Regions from separate parts of the Homo sapiens genome. Here region 1 is linked to region 2. Evidence: promoter capture Hi-C in 16 types of primary human blood cells and fetal thymus (Javierre and others, 2016). All regions are on one chromosome and are shown on one strand. The core of a region is centred on a gene start or on the middle of the fragment in contact, and the rest is flanking DNA. Distances in the headings are between cores, read along the strand shown.

Region 1 (2,897 bases), core at 87-2,586, 180 kb after region 2:
GCCCCAGTTGCCCACAGCAGCAACCTACTCTTCCTCACTCCTACTAGAGCTTTCTGGAATGATCTTGCGAATAAATTCCTTGCACTTGAATCATTGGCCCAAGAGAAGTCCATCTTAGCTTTATGCATGAGTAGATTCTTGGGAATAAAAAATAAAATATCTACTGGGGCTTAAGCAAGTTTGGGTATTCTTCTTCCCAAGTGCTGTACAAATGAGGAGAAAGTCCTTCTCCCTACCCATTTTGTCCACTCTATCATGCAACCTTGGCTTCATGTCAACAGAATATTGAAGAAGAGTGTCCCACAGCGGGAACCCACTTTCGTACCTGGTGGAGCTGACTTATTTGTAAGCACATGTGAGACTCACCCACACTGGGAGCTCCCTGGAATGATTGCAGAAAGGATGTTAGGTTGAGGACTAGGAAGCCTGCACTGGTGATGGAGGAAAATTAACTAATGAGATTCAAGGATTCATATGTATGTGATTTCATTGGCATGCTGAAGTTGGGAAGGGTTGGGGACTTTGGAATTGACATCCTAGTTGGTTTTTTGACTGAAAGGACAATGATAAAACAGCTGAGTGTCTGCTTTTTGCCTCCAGATCTGCACTGATCTTCCTCAACTCTTCTCTGTGCTCTGGGAGAATGACCCAGGTAGATGGCATCAATGGGTTTCCTTACTCTCTGGCTTCCACTTGGGTTTGGCCAATGAGAGACACAGGTGAGGGATTAGAGGGTGGAATGTATTTGTCTCCCTGGCTCCCTGCCTGCAGGGTACCTGCAGTGCTCTCCCTCCAGCTACCTACCCTCTGTGGGTCTGGGTTATTGTTTCCTCTGCTTGGCCCTTTTGGCATAGAAGCGATAAAGGCTCTCCACCATTGTGAGCCCCAAGGTATAGTAACATTCCTTGCCTACATTCTGCGCATGCCTCATCTGTCTAGAATGTCAATCATTTATTTATTATCTATCTATGTCTATCATCTATCGTTTATCTTTCATCCGTCTATATCTATCTTATGCTTCTCTGTCCTCTGTTGTCTATTTATATCTATGAATCTTTCTATTTTTCTATCATCTATCATTTATATATCTTTCTCTCCATCCATCTACCAATCTTTCTTCTTCTTTTTTTTTTGAGACGGAGTTTTGCTCTATTTCCCAGGCTGGAGTGGAGTGGCGAGATCTCGGCTCACTGCAAACTCTGCCTCCCGGGTTCATGCCATTCTCCTGCCTCAGCCTCCCAAGTGGCTGGGACTACAGGCGTCCACCACCGCGCCTGGCTAATTTTTTGTATTTTTAGTAGAGATGGGGTTTCACCATGTTAGCCAGGATGGTCTCGATCTCCTGACCTCGTGATCCGCCCGCCTTGGCCTCCCAAAGTGCTGGGATTACAGGCGTGAGCCACTGTGCCCGGCCTCTTCTCTTTTTTTTTTTTTTTTTTTTTGAGATGGAGTTTCACTCTTGTTGCCCAGGCTGGAATGCAATGGCGTGATCTTGGCTCACTGCAACCTCCGCTTCCTGGGTTCAAGCAATTCTCCTGCCTTAACCTCCTGAGTAGCTGGGATTACAGGCATGCACCACTACGCCTGGCTAATTTTTGTATTTTTAGTAGAGATGGGGTTTCTTCATGTTGGTCAGCCTGGTCTCGAACTCCCGACCTCAGGTGATCTGCCTGCCTTAGCCTCCCAAAGTGCTGGGATTACAGGCATGAGCCACTGAGCCTGGCCTAATTTTTGTATTTTTAAGTAGAGACAGGGTCACCATGTTGGCAGGCTGGTCTTGAACTACTGACCTCGTGATCCACCCTCCTTGGCCTGCCAATGTGCCGGGATTACAGGCATAAGCCACTGCACCCAGCCTTATCTGAGCCTTTCAAAGCCTCTATAGACAGCTCCTTCCCTAGCTTTTGGTTTAGTCTATTTGTCTCAACTGTCACTCACTGCCTCAGGCATCCATGAAGCTAAAATACCTTCCTGTAGCTGTTGTCAACAAAGGACCCCCAGAGTGAAGGCTTTTTGCATGGTTTATCTCAGAGCCAGGTCAAATACAGAGAGCTTTGCCAGTGGGATCTTGCAGGGAACCATTAGCTTGGTAAATAATGACAATTCTTGGCCGGGTGTGGTGGCTCACACCTGTAATCCCAGCACTTCGGGAGGCCGAGGTGGGCAGATCATTTGAGGTCGGGAGTTTGAGACCAGCTTGGCCAACATGGTAAAACGCTGTCTCTACTAAAAATACAAAAATTAGCCAGGCGTGGTGGTGCATGCCTGTAATTCCAGCTACTTGGGAGGCTGAGGCAGGAGAATTGCTTGAACCTGGGAGGCGGAGGTTGCAGTGAGCTGAGATTGCACCACCGCACTCCAGCCTGGGCGACAGAGAGAGAGAGACTCCATCTCAATAAATAAATAAATAAATAAATAAAATTTAAAAAATAATGACAATTCTTTGGGAATGAGGCTTGAAAGTGCTCTAGTTCTGTTTTGCTCTCTCTGGTGGATGCCAGGCTGCACCAGAGTTTGGGCTGGTATTTTTCAAGACGACCACGGAGCTGGAGAGTGGGGGAGAAGACCAGAGATGTTAAAATGCCGAGTATGCTGTTCTCACTGATATTCAGTAATTTTCTGAATACATTTTCTCTGAGTTGCTGCAAGACTTTAGTTAATTTCTAGAATTCCCAAAAATTTAGTCTAACAATTTTTTCTAGCTTTTTCATTCTTTATGGAGGACATAATTTATGGAGGTCCTTACTCTGACATTTTTTCTGACATTCCACCTCACATTGGTTGATGATTGATTGTTGGATTATGCATCTGGAGCTCAGAGTGGTTGGCTGATCTAAGATGTAGATTTGGGGAATACTGGTAAGGAAGTGGTATTTAAAACCATATGATTGTACTAA
Region 2 (2,700 bases), core at 181-2,680:
GTCGCCCAGGCTAGAGTGCAGTGGCACAATCTCGGCTCACTGCAACCTACGCCTCCCGGGTTCAAGTGATTCTTCTGCCTTAGCCTCCTGAGTAGCTGGCATTACAGGCATGGGATTACAGGCATGCGCCACCACACCCGGCTAATTTTTTTTTTTTTTTTTTGAGACGGAGTCTCGCTCTGTCGCACAGGCTGGAGTGCAGGGGCGCGATCTCCGCTCACAGCAAGCTCCGCCTCCCGGGTTCACGCCATTCTCCTGCCTCAGTCTCTCGAGTAGCTGGGACTACAGGCGCCCACCACCACACCCGGCTAATTTTTTGTATTTTTAGTAGAGACGGGGTTTCACCGTCTTAGCCAGGATGGTCTCGATCTCCTTACCTCGTGATCTGCCCGCCTCCCAAAGTGCTGGGATTACAGGCGTGAGCCACTGCGCCCGGCCCACACGGGGCTAATTTTTGTATTTTTAGTAGAGGCGAGGTTTCACTCTGTTGGCTAGGATGGTCTCCAACCCCTGGCCTCAAGCCAACCTCCTGCCTCTGCCTCCCAAAGTGCTGAGATTACAGGTGTGAGCCACCGAGCCTGGTCTGACTTGGGGTTGAGTCTTAAGGATGGGAAGGAGCTGGGCGCGGTGGCTCACGCCTGTAATACTAGCACTTTGGGAGGTCGAGGCAGGAGGATCGCTTGAGTCCAGGAGACAGAGACCAGCCTGGCCAACATCGTGAGATCCCATCTCTACAAAAAATAGTTAGCTGGGTGTGGTGGTGCACACCTGTAGTCCCAGCTACTTGGGAGGCTGAAGCAGGAGGATCGCTTGAGGCCAGCAGGTTGAGGCTGCAGTGAGCTATGACTGCACTACTGCACTCCAGCCTGGGGGACAGAGCAAGACCATGTCCCTTTTTTTAAAAAGGTGGGTTGGAAGAAGATCAACAGGGGGGCATAAGAGGAGAAAGGTGCTACCTCCCTGCCCAGGGGCAGCCAAGGAGGATCCGCCTCGGCCTTGCTCGCAGCCTCCTCTCACCTCCTTTCCTCCACTTCACCCCAGCCCCGGCGCCCCCATCGCAGCTCTCTCGCCTCAGCCTCCCTACCTGGGGTCCCCCCTTAGGGCTCTCTCCTCCGCCTCCTCCATCAGTCTGTGGGGTCCCTCCTCACCATCCTCCCTCCCTGTGAGGGTCTGTCTTCAGACCTTTCTTAGTATTTTGGATGTCTCTCTCAGCCTTCAGATCTTTTCCCGCAGGCCCAGCCTGCAGTCCGCCCGTTTCCCCCAGCCCGCTCCTTCGCTCTGCGGGGTCTCCTCCCTCAGTCCGCGGTATCCCCCACTCACCTCGCAGCCACTGTCTCTCCAGAGCTCGTTCGCGCTGGGCGCGGGGGCGGGGCGCGCACACCGGGCGGCGGCGGCGCGGGGCCGCGCGCGCAGCGTGCGCGGTGACGTCAGTGCGCTGGCGGCGGCGGCGGCGGCGGCGGCGGCGGCTGGGCTGTTTGTTCTGGTCTCCCGCAGCCGAGGAGCCGAAGCAGTGGCGGCGGCAGCGGCTGCGGCGGCTGCCGGCGGTGCCCGCGGGCGAGCGCGGCCTGTGAGCTCGGCAGAGCGGCGGGCGGGCCCCGGCGCCGCGCAGGCAGCTCGGGGAGGGGGCGGCGGCAGCGGGCGGACGGCCGGCGGGGGCGGCGTGCGGCCTAGCGTCTCAGGTGAGGACTGGTGCCCTTTGGGGCGGCGGACGACACTGGGCGGCTGGCGGAGGCTCGCGGCGCGGTCCGCGTAACCTGCATTGCGTAATGGGGCCGGGGCGCCGCCACCTACGCCATCCGCGCGGCGCGGGGGCGGGGAGGCCGGGGCTACGCGGGCTCGGGCCTGCGGGCCTCCCGCGCCGTTCGTTCCGGGCCGGGGCGGCCTGCGCCGTTGGTGTCGGGGCGGCGGGGTCGCTCGCGGCTGTCCTGCCTTTGGTGCCGTCGGACCCGGGCTTGGGCTGGCCGGCGGGGCGCGGGTGGGGGGCGCGGGCGCCGCGGCGGGGCCGGCGGTCGGGGGCGGGCGGGGGGCGGGCCGAGGCGCCCGGCACTTCCTGCCGCCGCCATTTTGTTAAGTGAGGAGGAGGAGGAGGAGGAGGAAGCGGCCGCCGCGGGGTCCGCGGCGCGCCCGGCCCGGGTAAGTCCCGGCCTGGCGCGGGGGCCGCGAGCGCAGCTGTCCCGGTCCGCGGTCCTCTAGGCGGGCTCGGCCGCGGCGCTCACGTGGGCCGGGGCCGGCGCGCTCTCCTTCTGGCACCCAGGTCGTTTTGCCTGGGCCGGGGCAGCGCGCCCCCACCCCCATCTCTTCACCTTCCCGGCGGTCCCCGGAGTGCTGCGGAGAAAGGGGCAGGTCCCCTGCGGAGGGAGGTGGCTGCGGCTGCACGCCGGTCTGAGGCCAGGCCTCAGGGCGGGAGCGGTGCCCTGGAGGCGAGCTTGGCCCGCTTGACGCACCCACTCTCAGCCTGGCAGCCCCTTGCTGGGCGCTTTGTTTTGCTCGGTCCGTGCTCGCCGGCGTCCTTGCAACGGCCTATTTTATTTGCAGTGTTGTGTGGTGGTGGTGATTGTGGTGATTTGGGGTGGGGATGTGGGGGAGTTGTGATTCAGCGAAATAAAATGATCCCCCTCCTCCCAAACGGAAATAGCATGGCTTCACTCGGCTGAGATGCCCCCAAGGCTTGGGTTTGCTTGAAGATGGGAAACCCCACTC

Evidence for each region. The method cuts DNA at HindIII sites, captures the fragments that hold promoters and counts their contacts. A CHiCAGO score of 5 or more calls a contact.
Region 1: a contact is called between a fragment that was not itself captured here and the fragment with the promoter of BRD4 in region 2, in 1 of 17 cell types (M2 macrophages). The highest score is 5.2, in M2 macrophages.

Annotation. Positions count from the first base shown.
Region 1 is chr19:15,154,560-15,157,456 of GRCh38, reverse strand. No RefSeq gene overlaps it. Among named protein-coding and RNA genes, the nearest start is that of MIR6795, 23 kb to the left of the region's middle. The HindIII fragment of the contact is 3,609 bases long and covers 1-2,897 here.
Region 2 is chr19:15,331,269-15,333,968 of GRCh38, reverse strand. It overlaps BRD4 (bromodomain containing 4), which reads left to right and starts at 1,430. Exons shown (of 20, transcript NM_001379291.1): 1 at 1,430-1,679. It overlaps LOC124904643 (a long non-coding RNA gene), which reads right to left and starts at 1,356. Exons shown (of 4, transcript XR_007067146.1): 1 at 1,321-1,356. RefSeq lists an enhancer at 548-1,164 and silencers at 1,121-1,190, 1,331-1,430, 1,661-1,890, 2,091-2,190, 2,221-2,370 and 1 more. The HindIII fragment of the contact is 24,183 bases long and covers 1-2,700 here.